2 separate regions of the Homo sapiens genome follow, and region 2 is linked to region 1. The links are contacts of gene promoters, found by promoter capture Hi-C in blood cells and fetal thymus (Javierre and others, 2016). All regions are on one chromosome and are shown on one strand. The core of a region is centred on a gene start or on the middle of the fragment in contact, and the rest is flanking DNA. Distances in the headings are between cores, read along the strand shown. Region 1 holds the start of ZNF350 (zinc finger protein 350). Region 2 overlaps ZNF816-ZNF321P (ZNF816-ZNF321P readthrough).

Region 1 (6,628 bases), core at 1,163-3,662:
GCAGCTGCTACTGTAGCCTTGAAAGCCTGATGCTGCGTGTGAATCCGGATGGGGAGCTTGTGGGGACGACCATGAAGTGGAAACGCATGTGAATGTCCGTGTTCAGGGGTTTTATTTCAGTTTAGTCACCGAGGAATATGGGTGTGAGAAAGAGACCCTTGGGATGTCAAAGGTTAAGGCTTAGTTTTAAGAGTTTAATGACTGAGGGTCCCACGGACAGAGCTTGAGGTCTATATGTTCACTTTTCATGAGTCTCAGTAATAGAAAACTGGGGAAAGTGTGTCTCAGTGAATGCTGTTTTTTGCTCAGATTTGCAATTTAATATGGGGCTCAGATACAGAGAAGCCCGAGCTAGGAAGAGGAGTGGCGTGAATGAAAGGTCTAGGGGGAGGAGTGTCAAAGGAGTGCCTCTGTGGTAAGTTTTAAATTGAATTTGAAGGCAATTTTATTTAGAGGAAGACGGGGCTTGTCTGTGTTTGAGAATGTAATGAGGCTGGAGGCTTTCAGGTGTGCAGTTGAAGGTTAGTGGTTGCTTTGAGACTAACTGGATGCTGGAAACACTTCCTGTCAGTCTTTCAAGTCCAAATCTGTCCTGAAGGTTTCTATTTAAAAACTTTTTCTTCCTAGGTCCACTATTCTCATTGTACCCATAAAAATCAGAGTAATTCAGGGTGACGAAGTGGTGTCTTTACCGAGGAGTCTTGCTCTGTCGCCCAGGCTGGGGTGCAGTGGCGCGATCTCGGCTTACTGCAACCTCCGCCTCCCGGATTCAAGCGATTCTCCTGCCTCAGGCTCCCGAGTAGCTGGGATTACAGGCGCGCGCCACCGCGTCCGGGTAATTTTTGTATTTTTAGTAGAGACTGGTTTCGCTTTGTTGGCCAGGCTGGTCTGGAACTCCTGACCTCAGATGATCCGCCTGCCTCGGCCTCCCAAAGTGCTGGGATTACAGGTGTGAGCCACCGTGCCCCACTTCACTTTCTTAAATGTTGTGTTTAGAAGCACAAACTTAAAAAAAAATCAAGTCCACTTTATTAATTTTATTTTGTTTTGTGGGTCATCCTTTACTCTCCTCTCAGAATTAACTCACGTCCATGAGGATTATCTCCCTTTTCCTTCTCTAAGTTTTATACTTTCTCTTAAACTTAGATCTATGATCTATTTTGAGTTAACTTTTGTGTATGGTTTGAGGGTCCTAACTCATTTTTCTGGATGTGGATATCCAATTATCCCAGTGCCGCTTGTTGAAAAGACTATTCTTATTGAATTGTCTTGGCACTTTTGTCAAAAACTCTTAACAATATTTTTATACTCTCAATTCTGGCTCTGCTCTTCCCATTGGCACCTTTACTAAAAGTGGCCTTTCTAGGAGGCCCAATTCCTTTAGTCTGTCGTGGCCAGGCTCACATCGTAATTCATTCTCAAAATCTCTTTTCTCTCCTCTCCTCTCCTCTTTTCTCTTCTTTTCTCCTCTTTTCTCTTCCTTCTCCTCCTCCTCTTCCTCCTTCTTCTTCTTCTTTTTTGTAAATAATAATCATTTTTTCGAGGCCAGGCGCGGTGGCTCACACCTGTAATCCCAGCACTTTGGGAGGCCGAGACAGGCAGATCACGAGGTCAGGAGGTCGAGATCATCTTGGCCAACATGGTGAAAGCCAGTCTCTACTAAAAATACAAAAATTAGCTGGGCGTGGTGGCGCGTGCCTGTAGTCCCAGCTACTTGGGAGGCTAAGGCAGGAGAATCGCTTGAACCAGGGAGGCAGAGGTTGCAGTGAGCCCAGATCTCGCCACTGCACTCCAGCCTGGCGACAGAGCAAGACTCCGTCTCAAAAAAAATTATAATTTTTTTCTTTCTTCACCACCCGCCCCCCCGAATACCTGCTATTTTTCTGTTCTTAAAAACCGCTTCCTGCAAGCTAATTTTCGCCAGACGCTTTCCCGTGGGTGTCTGCCTACCTGATGTGTTGCCTTTTCCCTTTCTACCTGATCTGTTACCTTTTCCATTTCCAATTCATTCTCTGGGATACCTACACCTGGCTGCACTGTTACTTGTCTTTTTCAAAACCTTTTTTTTTAAATTTAACAAAGTGGATGGAAAAGCGCTAAAGGCAATTTAGCTTGCCCCATATTTGCCTGATAAAGCCTGAGTCTCTGAAAATCTGCCCCCTTTCGCAAGACTTTAAGTGCCAGGAAACGAGGCGATTTCAGTGACTTCTCTTCTTCCCTGGCTCCTGGCTCAAAAACCTGCCACTGCCTTCTGTGCGTCCAATTTTCAAACATGGCTGCCGTCAGGAGCCACGGCTATGGGCGCGGCCATTTTACAGAGTAGGAAATGCCGTAAATGCGCTTGTCCTTGCTCTTTTAAACATTTTAGGTTCTCCTCGGCCGCCGTAGGTGGACCATAAACCCGTGCGAGGACTCCAGAAGTAGGAGCAGTTTACGGAAGTGTAACGTTGAGGCCCTTCTTGTGTATCTGGAGAAAATAGAGGTCAGTGTGTGGTTTTGTCCCTGAAAGTTTTTTGTCCTAGTTCAGGTTTTGTCTCAGTGGAAGGTTTGGGAGATCTGAGGACGTGGTGTACCCTGGACCACATAGTTTTTGGCAGGAAGACTGGGGAGCGCCGGGGTATAGGCATTTGGGAGGTACCTGGTGGGAGTCTGTGATCCCCCTGTCTGTGGTCCGCGTGCCTTTGGTGTGAGTACAGTGACTAAGGGTCTGTAGTGATCAACGGCCGTGTCCTAACTGTCAAGGTATGGATCACTCTGCTTGTAAAGGATGGAGGTGGCGATTAGGATCGATGCGGCGTCTGCTTCGGGTTCAGGATTTAATTTGGAACTCAGTGATGTTGGAGTCTGGGAGGATGTCCATCGCTGTAGAGTGTCTGGTCCGTGGTTCGGATGAGTAAGAGGCATGGGGCCAGTGTCTGTGGTACAAAGGCTTGTGAGGGCTGAAGCTTTCGAGACTTTGGAGCCCTGGGTCCTGGGTTGAGGTTCGAACCTCGGTTACTGGGGCAAAAGGCGACACAGCCCCCAGCATTAGTTCGAAACCATATATCTACTCTTCTGATCCTTGGGGTGGCTATTTACAGATCGGGGGGTCAAGTTCAGTCATACCCTCCGATTATATATTGTCTATGGCTGCAAAGGCAGCGGTTGAGTTGTTGTGACAGAGACCTCGTGGCCGGCAAAATCGAAAATGTTGCCAACCTCTGCATTCACTTCTTTTATTTTTTATTTATTTTTTTTATTTTTTGAGACGGAGTTTCACTTTTGTCTCCCAGACTGGAGTGCAATGGCGCGATCTCGGCTCACTGCAATCTCCGCCTCCCGGGTTCAAGCGATTCTCCTGCCTCAGCCTCCTGAGTAGCTGGGACTACAGGCCCACGCCACCACGCCCGGCTAGTTTTTGTATTTTTAGTAGAGACAGGGTTTTACCACGTTGGGCAGGTTGGTCTCGAACTCCTGACCTCAGGTGATCCGCCCACCTTGGCTTTCCAAAGTGCTGGGATTACAGGCGTGAGCCACCGCGCCCGGCCTTCACTTCTTAATATATAGTGAGTGTTGCTTGCCCGCCTTATATTCACACTTTCTTAACAGAATCTCCATTTCGTGAAGTATTCATCCCTGTGGCAAGGCGACCCAAATCCCAGTTTCTTAGTAAGGCCTTGTTGGTCTTAGCCAATCTTGCTGGTTCCAATTGCCATTGCTAGTGATAGGTTTGACATGGAAATGAGCTTAGGCGTATGGTGCAATTCTAGCCAACTATGTATGTGAAAATCTGCCTGGGAGTTTCTGAGGGAGCATTTTCTTTTTTAAATATGTAATTTCTTGAATCTCTTTTTCCATGTTCGTGATGATATCGCCTGAAAATAACATTAATTTTCTGTCTTACTTTGTAATGCTTATAATTCATTCTTATCTTAATGCATTGGCTCAACTTTCCAGTATAAAGTAGGAAAATAGGGTGTTAGTGGACGTTCTTGTTTTATTACCCACCTGTAAAATTCACCCGTTGTGTTGTCTGGAGTTAACACCTTTCCTGGAGGTAAACTGTTTGGTATGGTTGATCTCTTCCTTTACTTTGTTAATTTTTCTACATTTATATATTTTAAATGTACAATTTAATTATCATGGAGGCAATATATGTATAAGCAGTCATTGCCCAGGTCAAGAAATAGAATATGGTCAGCACACCAGTGGTGTTCTGTGAGTCTTTTTCCATTCTCACACCGAAAAGTATTTTAGGCTTTTCTTTATATAATTAATCATTATTTATCATTGTAGTTAATACAGTTTTGCCTATTTTAAACTCTGTATATCAGTGGAATTGTACATCACTCTTTTTTTGTGTCAGCCTTCTTTTGCTCATTATTGGTGAGGGTCTTTCCTGTTGCATCTGAGTATATTTTCTTTGCTCAATGACAAGGATCAGGCGAATTTACAGTAAATATTTTAGGGCTTGCAGGCTACATATGGTCTCTTGCATATGCTAATTTGCTTTTTGTTTTACAGTCTTTCAAAAATGTAAAAAGCATTCTTGCAGGCTGGACCAAAGGTATAATAGGTTTTCTATCACATTCCATTATGTAAAATATAGCAGTTTTTTCTATTATTAATTACATTTGTATTACCTAAAGCTTGTATTATTAAGAATAATGCATGTGTGAAAATTTGTGTAAATGTCTTTTGGTTCATATGTGCTCTCATATGGGGGAGGCAGAGATGTATATCTAGATGTGCACCTCGGAGGAAAATTGCTGCTTCATAGAGTGTGTATAAACTCCGTCTAAATAGATGTCAAACTGTTTTCTAAAGTGGTTGTACCACTTACAGTTCCCCTAGCAGGATATAGTTTGCTTTATAGGGTGCTTTATGTGGCCTCTTTAAAATATCTGGCCATACCCTAATAACATTGAGAGATTCTCCTATATTAATGTTCTTTAAAGCTTTATTGATATGTTTCTACCATTGAAATTGACAGTTGATTCTAAAATGGTTTTTGTGTATGTTGTGAGGGGGGTTTTAACTTTCTGTCCCCATCCCCAGTACCATTTATTGATTTTTTTTTTTTTTTTTAATTTTTTTAGATAGAGTCTTGCTCTCGTCGCCCAGGCTGGAGTGTAGTGGCGTGCTTGGCTCAACTGCAACCTCTGCCTTCTGGGCTCAAGTGATTCTTGTGCCACGGCCTCCCGAGTAGCTGGAATTACCAGCAGGTGCCACCTTGCCTGGCTAATTTTTGTATTTTTAGTAGAGATGGGGTTTCACCATGATGGCCAGGCTGGTCTCCAACTCTGGCTCAAGTGGTCCACCTGCCTGAAGGGGGCCTGCCCCTCCACACCTGTGGGTATTTTTTGCAAGGTGGAAATGAGAGACTGAGAAAAGAAATCAGACACAGAGAGAAAGTACAGAGGAAGAAAAGTGGGCCCAGGGGACTGGTGTTCAGCATATGGGGGACCCACACCGGCACTGGTCTCTGAGTTTTGTTAGTATTTATTGATTACTATTTTTACCATCTTGGTGAGGGGGGTGTGGCAGGACTATAGGGTAATGGTGGGGAGAGGGTCAGTAGGAAAACATGTGAGTAAAGGACTCTGTGTTATAAATAAGTTTAAGGAAAGGTCCTGTGCCTTGATGTGTACGTAGGCCAGATTTATGTTTGACTTTACACAGACATCTTAGTGTAGTAAAGAGTAGTATTGCCGCCAGTATGTCTCACCTTTAGTTATAAGGTGGTTTTCTCCTATCTTAGTAAATAGAATGTATGATTGGGTTTTATACCGGGACATTCCATTCCCAGGGAGGAGCAGGAGACAGATGGCTTTCTCTTATTTTAACTGTAAAGAGGTCTTCCTCTTTCACTAATCCTCCTCAGCACAGACCCTTTACGAGTGTTGGGCTGGGAGATGGTCAGGTTTTTCCCTTCCCACGAGACCATATCTCAGGCTGTATCAGTGGGAGGAAACCTTGGACAATACCCAGGCTTTCTTGGGCAGAGGTCCCTGCGGCCTTCCGCAGTGCATTGTGTCCCTGGGTACTTGAGACTGGAGAATGGTGATGACTTTTACCAAGCATACTGCCTGCAAACACATTTTAACAAAGCACGTCCTGCACAGCCCTAAATCCATTAAACCTTGAGCCAACACAGCACACGTTTCTGAGCACAGGGTTGGGGCTAGGGTTACAGATTAACAGTATCTCAAGACAGAGGAACTTTTCTTTGTACAGATTAAAATGGAGTTTCTTATGTCTTCCTCTTTCTATATAGACACAGTAACAGTCTGATCTCTCTTTCCCCCACACCTTCCTCAGCTTCCCAAAGTGCTAGGATTACAGGCGTGAGCCACGGCGCCCTTAGTTCCATTTATTGAAAAGACAGCTTTTATCTACTTCCCTGTAGTGCTATCATTGCCATTGAGTCTCTATATGTGCTTAATTCTGCTTATAAGGATTTTATTCTGTTCCTTTGTCCTATTTGCCTGTTATTGTACTAATATTGTGCTGTCCTAATTAAAGTAGCTTTATAAGTCCTCATAACTGATATGGCAAGTCTTCTAACTTTTTTTTCAAACTTTAAAAAAAAGTTTATAGCTATTTAAACTTTTCAGTATCAGTTTGGGATTGTGACTGTGATTTCATT
Region 2 (6,229 bases), core at 715-3,214, 960 kb before region 1:
ACAAGTGTTTCCAGCTGTGCTTGTGGTTTTGTTTTCTTTTTGTTTGTTTGTTTTCAGACAGAGTCTCCCTCTGTTGAACAGACTGGAGTGCAGAGTCTTGATCTCATCTTATTGCAACCTCTGCATCCTGAGTTCAAGCAATTCTTGTACTTCAGCCTCTCAACCTAACTGGAATTACAGGCACATGCCTCCATACCTGGCAGATTTTCATATTTTTATTAGACATAGGGTATCACCATGTTGGCCAAGTTGGTCTTGAACTCCTGGCCTCAAGCAATTTGCCCACCTCAGCCTCGAAGTGTTGGGATTACAGGCGTGAGCCACCATGCTTGGCCTTTCATTCTGGTTTTTGAGAACCATCACAGAAGCATCTCTCACTAGCACTGTGACAGTGTTCATCACATAAACGAATGGTCATCTTCTCTAAGCAGTAGTCACTGCTGTAGAAATTCCTCTTAGGGAGGACATCATTCAGGCTCACTGCCTCATATATATGAGGCTCTTGACTGAACTCTTTTTTTTTTCTACACAGAATTTTGCTCTTGTTGCCCAGGCTGGAGTGCAATGTGGTGATCTCCGCATGCTGCAACCTCTGCCTCCTGGCTTCAAGCAATTCTGCTGCCTCAGCCTCCTGAGTAGCTGGGATTACAGGCACCCACCACCATGACTGGCTAATTTTTGTATGTTCAGTAGAGACAGTGTGTTCTTAAACTATGAAGATCACATTTGGGAAGTTTAAAATAAGTATTGCTTTTTGTGTAATTTTTACACATCTGAATATCAACTATTATTTACCATCTGTACTTAATTGGAAACCTATTGGTCTTTATATTTTTTAGATAGCTCTTTAAAATCCATGATGGAGTTCTCATCAACCAGGCACAGTATTACAGGAGAAGTGATCCACACAGGGACGTTGCAAAGACATAAAAGTCATCACATTGGAGATTTTTGCTTCCCAGAAATGAAGAAAGATATTCATCACTTTGAGTTTCAGTGGCAAGAAGTTGAAAGAAATGGCCATGAAGCACCCATGACAAAAATCAAAAAGTTGACTGGTAGTACAGACCGAAGTGATCACAGGCATGCTGGAAACAAGCCTATTAAAGATCAGCTTGGATTAAGCTTTCATTCGCATCTGCCTGAACTCCACATGTTTCAGACTAAAGGGAAAATTAGTAACCAATTGGACAAGTCTATCGGTGCTTCCTCAGCTTCAGAATCCCAAAGAATTTCTTGTAGGCTCAAAACTCATATTTCTAATAAGTATGGGAAGAATTTCCTCCATTCTTCATTCACACAAATACAGGAAATATGCATGAGAGAAAAACCTTGCCAAAGTAATGAGTGTGGCAAAGCCTTTAATTATAGCTCACTCTTAAGGAGACACCACATAACCCATTCAAGAGAGAGAGAATATAAATGTGATGTATGTGGCAAGATCTTTAATCAGAAGCAATACATTGTATATCATCATAGATGTCACACTGGTGAGAAAACTTACAAGTGTAATGAGTGTGGGAAGACCTTCACTCAGATGTCATCCCTTGTATGCCATCGTAGACTTCATACTGGAGAGAAACCTTACAAGTGTAATGAGTGTGGCAAGACCTTCAGTGAGAAGTCATCCCTTAGATGCCATCGTAGACTTCATACTGGAGAGAAACCTTACAAGTGTAATGAGTGTGGCAAGACTTTTGGTCGAAATTCAGCCCTTGTAATTCATAAGGCAATTCATACTGGAGAGAAACCTTACAAGTGTAATGAGTGTGGCAAGACCTTCAGTCAGAAATCATCCCTTCAATGCCATCATATACTTCACACTGGAGAGAAACCTTACAAATGTGAAGAATGTGACAATGTTTACATTCGCAGATCACACCTTGAAAGACATAGGAAGATTCATACTGGAGAGGGATCATACAAATGTAAGGTTTGTGACAAGGTTTTCCGGAGTGATTCATACCTTGCAGAACATCAGAGAGTTCATACTGGAGAGAAACCATACAAGTGTAATAAATGTGGCAGGAGTTTCAGTCGGAAGTCATCCCTTCAATACCATCATACACTTCACACTGGAGAGAAACCTTACACATGTAATGAATGTGGCAAGGTTTTTAGTCGAAGAGAAAACCTTGCACGTCATCATAGACTTCATGCTGGAGAGAAACCTTACAAATGTGAAGAATGTGACAAAGTTTTCAGTCGCAGATCACACCTTGAAAGACATAGGAGAATTCATACTGGGGAAAAACCATACAAATGTAAGGTTTGTGACAAGGCTTTCCGGAGTGATTCATGCCTTGCAAACCATACGAGAGTTCATACTGGAGAGAAACCTTACAAGTGTAATAAATGTGCGAAGGTTTTTAATCAAAAAGGAATCCTTGCACAACATCAGAGAGTTCATACTGGAGAGAAACCTTACAAGTGTAATGAATGTGGCAAGGTTTTTAATCAAAAAGCAAGCCTTGCAAAACATCAGAGAGTTCATACTGCAGAGAAACCTTACAAGTGTAATGAGTGTGGCAAAGCCTTTACTGGACAGTCAACACTTATTCACCATCAAGCAATCCATGGGTGTAGGGAAACTTTACAAATGTAATGATTGTCACAAAGTCTTCAGTAATGCTACAACCATTGCAAATCATTACAGAATCCATATTGAAGAGAGATCTACAAGTGTAATAAATGTGGCAAATTTTTCAGACGTCATTCATAACTTGTAGTTCATCAGTGAACTCATACTGGAGAGAAACCTTACAAATATCATGACTGTGACAAGGTCTTCAGTCAAGCTTCATCCTATGCAAAACATAGAATTCATACAGGAGAGAAACCTCACAAGTGTGATGATTGTGGCAAAGCCTTTACTTCATGTTCACACCTCATTAGACATCAGAGAATTCATACTGGACAGATGCCTTACAAATGTAAGGGTGGCAAGGTCTTCACTCTGTGGTCATTCCATGCAGAACATCAGAAAATTCATTTTTGAGATAATTGTTCCAAATAAAATGAATATAAAAAATCATAAAACTTTAATTGACATTAGAGTTGATTCAACATTGACTTGAGTTTGAGTTGACTTAACATTGAGTTCACGCATTAATTGACATAAAAAGTGTTAATGTTAAGAAGAATGGGTCAGGTGCAGTGGCTCATGCCTGTTTTCCCAGTACTTTGGGAGGCCAAGGCAGGTAGATCACTTGAGGTCAGCAGTTTGAGACCAGCCTGGCCAACAGACTTGAGCCACTTTACCCAGCCTGTTTTTTATTTTTATTTTTTGAGATGGAGTCTTGCTCTTGTCACTCAGGCTATAGTGCAATGACATGATCTCAGCTCACTGGAACCTTCACCTCCTGCATTCAAGCAATTCTCCTGCCTCAGCCTCCTGAGTAGCTGGGATTAGTGATGCATGCCACCACACCATGCTAATTTTTGTATTTTTATTTATTTTTTATTTTATTTTATTTTTTTGTTTTGAGATGGAGTCTTGCTCTTGTCACCCAGGCTGGAGTGCAGTGGTATGGTCTGGGCTCATTGCAACCTTTGCCTCCTGGGCTCAAGCAATTCTTCTGCCTCAGCCTCCTAAGTAGCTGGGATTACAGGTGCCCGCCACCAAGCCTGGCTAATTTTTGTATTTTTAGTAGAGAGGGTGTTTCTCCATGTTGGTCAGTCTGGTCTTGAAATCCTAACCTCAGCTGATCCACCCACCTCGGCCTCCCAAAGTGGTGGGATTACAGGCGTGAGCCACTGCAACTGGCTCTTTTAAATGTAATTTTATTTATTTATTTATTTTTGAGCCTGTTTTGCAGCCTTTACAAAAATCAGGGTTTTCCCACAAGATCATGAAGATTTTCATATAAGGGACCTCTGACCATTTGTGTTGGCGTTGGCAGTAAAGGTCAAGCAGGAATAAGGTAATAACATTCAAGCTCCCCACCTTTGGCCAGGTTCCTGCCTTTCTAGTTCATATTTTGGCCAAACCTAGCTACTCGCCAGGCTGAGGCAAGAGAATCACTTGAACCCGGGAGGCGGAGGTTGCAGCGAGCCAAGATCGCACCATTGCACTGCAGCCTGGGCAAAAAGAAAGAAACTTAGTCTAAAAAAAAGAAAAAATCAAGACCCTTCTCCTCTCTCCGTCATCGTAGTGTGTGCTTGACTTGGCTTCTTGCCATGTCTTCTCACAAGACTTTCAGGATTAAGAGAGTCCTGGCCAAGAAACAAAAGCAGAATTGTTCCATTCCCCAGTGGATTCGCATGAAAACTGATAATAAGGTCACAATCACGCAACCATATCAAGCTGAAAATGTCACCCCTATCTGGAGAGTTGGACATGTTTTATTGGGAATATATTTTTTATCTCTGACTCTGTTACGAACACATTGGTTGGCTAGGTTCGGTAATAAATATGTGAAACATTTTATTTAAAAAAAAAAAACGTCAATTGGGCGTGGTGGCTCACGCCTGTAATCCTAGCACTTTGGGAGTCCAAGGCAGGTGGATCACAAGGTCAGGAGATCGAGACCATCCTGGCTAACATGGTGAAACCCCGTCTCTACTAAAAATACAAAAAATTAGCCGGGCGTGGTGGCGGGCGCCTGTAGTCCCAGCTACTCGGGAGGCTGAGGCAGGAGAATGGCATGAACCCGGCAGGCGGAAGTTGCAGTGAGCTGAGATCGCGCCACTGCACTCCAGCCTGGGTTGACAGAGCAAGACTCCATCTCAGAAAAAAAATAAATAAATAAAAAATAAAAATAAAATAAGTCAAATGACGTAATTCGATAGAGTACCTTAACCTTTGTTTTGTTTTTTTGAGCTGGAGACTCCACTGTGTTCAGTGGATCACACCTGTGGTCCACGCACCTTGGGAGGCTGAGGTGGGAGGATTGCTTGAGACTGAGTCTCCTGGGAATCTTCTCGTCTCTTCTAACCCAGTTCATGACAGACCCTTGGACTTTATTGATGTGGAAAATCTATATAAAGCAATATCATTGTGTCAAAGCATTATGTCTGTCTGAGCTTGTGAAAGGATAATAAAAATTACCAAGCCAAAGAGAAAGGTCAAGCTGGGAATTGGGACAGAAAAACCTGCCTCCCATTTTATTCCTAAACAACATAGCTACAAAGACTAAAAAAAGCTACCTAGAGGCTGGGCGCAGTGGCTCACGCCTGTAATCCCAGCATGTTGGGAGGCCGAGGTGGGCAGATCACCTGAGATTGGGTTTTCCAGACCAGCATAACCAACATGGTGTAACCAACATTTTTAGTCTCTACTAAAAATACAAAATTAGCTGGGTGTAGTGGCGGGCGCCTGTAATTCCAGTTACTCAGGAGCCTGAGGCAGGAGAATCGCTTGAACCTAGTAGTCAGAGATTGTGGTGAGCCGAGATTTTGCCACCTGAAAGGGGGAGGACATGGGCTAAAACGATACAAACGCTGCAGAGCCACCGGGTCTGCGAGCTTCCCATGGCGAAGCTGGGACTCCCTGACAACTGCACAAACTCGCGTGGGGATTTCAACATCCCGACGCACCCAAATTCCTGGTATGGCTGGACTGGGGGCTGGGGTGCTGAGAAAGGCAGGTTTGAAGCAGAAAGACAAAAAATCACTCACCTGCGTCAGCCCCGGGCTCTCCGTGCAGAACAACCATGGGCTGGTCCTGGACCCTGTCTGGGAGGGTTCTGGACACTAAGCGGGGACAGGGCAGGAGAGAAAAGGTTGCTGAGCGGGCGGGGCCTGAACAGGTGCTGGGTCGGGGCGAGAGAGTGGAGGCCGCTGTGGGGGCGGGGCCTGGGGCGGGGCAAAAGGGAGAAGGCTGCCTGGGGGCCGGGCCGGACTGCGGGCAGGAGCCAGGCCAGAGGGTTGACGCCGTCTAGGGGGCGGGCTCTGGAAGGTGGGTTGTTCTAAAGGGCCAGGCCTGGAGGGGGCGGGTTCGGGCTTTCTCAGCTGGGCCGTGGATGTCTCCTGCTGTCATCCTCTCCCTCTAGGACTGGATCCTCCGAGTTCTGATTGGTGGATTCATTCTCTTGTGCCGTGATGTTACCCCTAATATCACATGGATGCTTCCTGCCCGTTTTAAGTTAACATTTCAAACAATCGAAGGTAAAACAACTTATTGTAGTAGACCACGTGTGCTGAACGCTGAATAGTTTCTCTTCTTAAATTGAAAATGGTTTTAATGCAAAGCGCCTTTTTGGAGCAGGTAGAGTCGTGCGTCCTGCAG

What was found. The method cuts DNA at HindIII sites, captures the fragments that hold promoters and counts their contacts. A CHiCAGO score of 5 or more calls a contact.
Region 2: a fragment that was not itself captured here is called in contact with the fragment with the promoter of ZNF350 in region 1 in 1 of 17 cell types (non-activated CD4 T cells); the score reaches 5.0 in non-activated CD4 T cells.

What each region holds. Positions count from the first base shown.
Region 1 is chr19:51,982,624-51,989,251 of GRCh38, reverse strand. ZNF350 (zinc finger protein 350) reads left to right here and starts at 2,412. Exons shown (of 5, transcript NM_021632.4): 1 at 2,412-2,482. RefSeq lists enhancers at 2,246-2,485, 2,072-2,947. The HindIII fragment of the contact is 6,623 bases long and covers 1-2,947 here.
Region 2 is chr19:52,946,195-52,952,423 of GRCh38, reverse strand. The region is part of intron 3 of ZNF816-ZNF321P (ZNF816-ZNF321P readthrough); the gene reads left to right. It overlaps ZNF816 (zinc finger protein 816), which reads left to right. Exons shown (of 4, transcript NM_001202457.3): 4 at 840-3,039. The coding sequence ends at 2,605. LOC124904761 (a long non-coding RNA gene) reads right to left here and starts at 5,696. Exons shown (of 2, transcript XR_007067329.1): 1 at 5,620-5,696; 2 at 4,368-4,979. The HindIII fragment of the contact is 1,673 bases long and covers 1,128-2,800 here.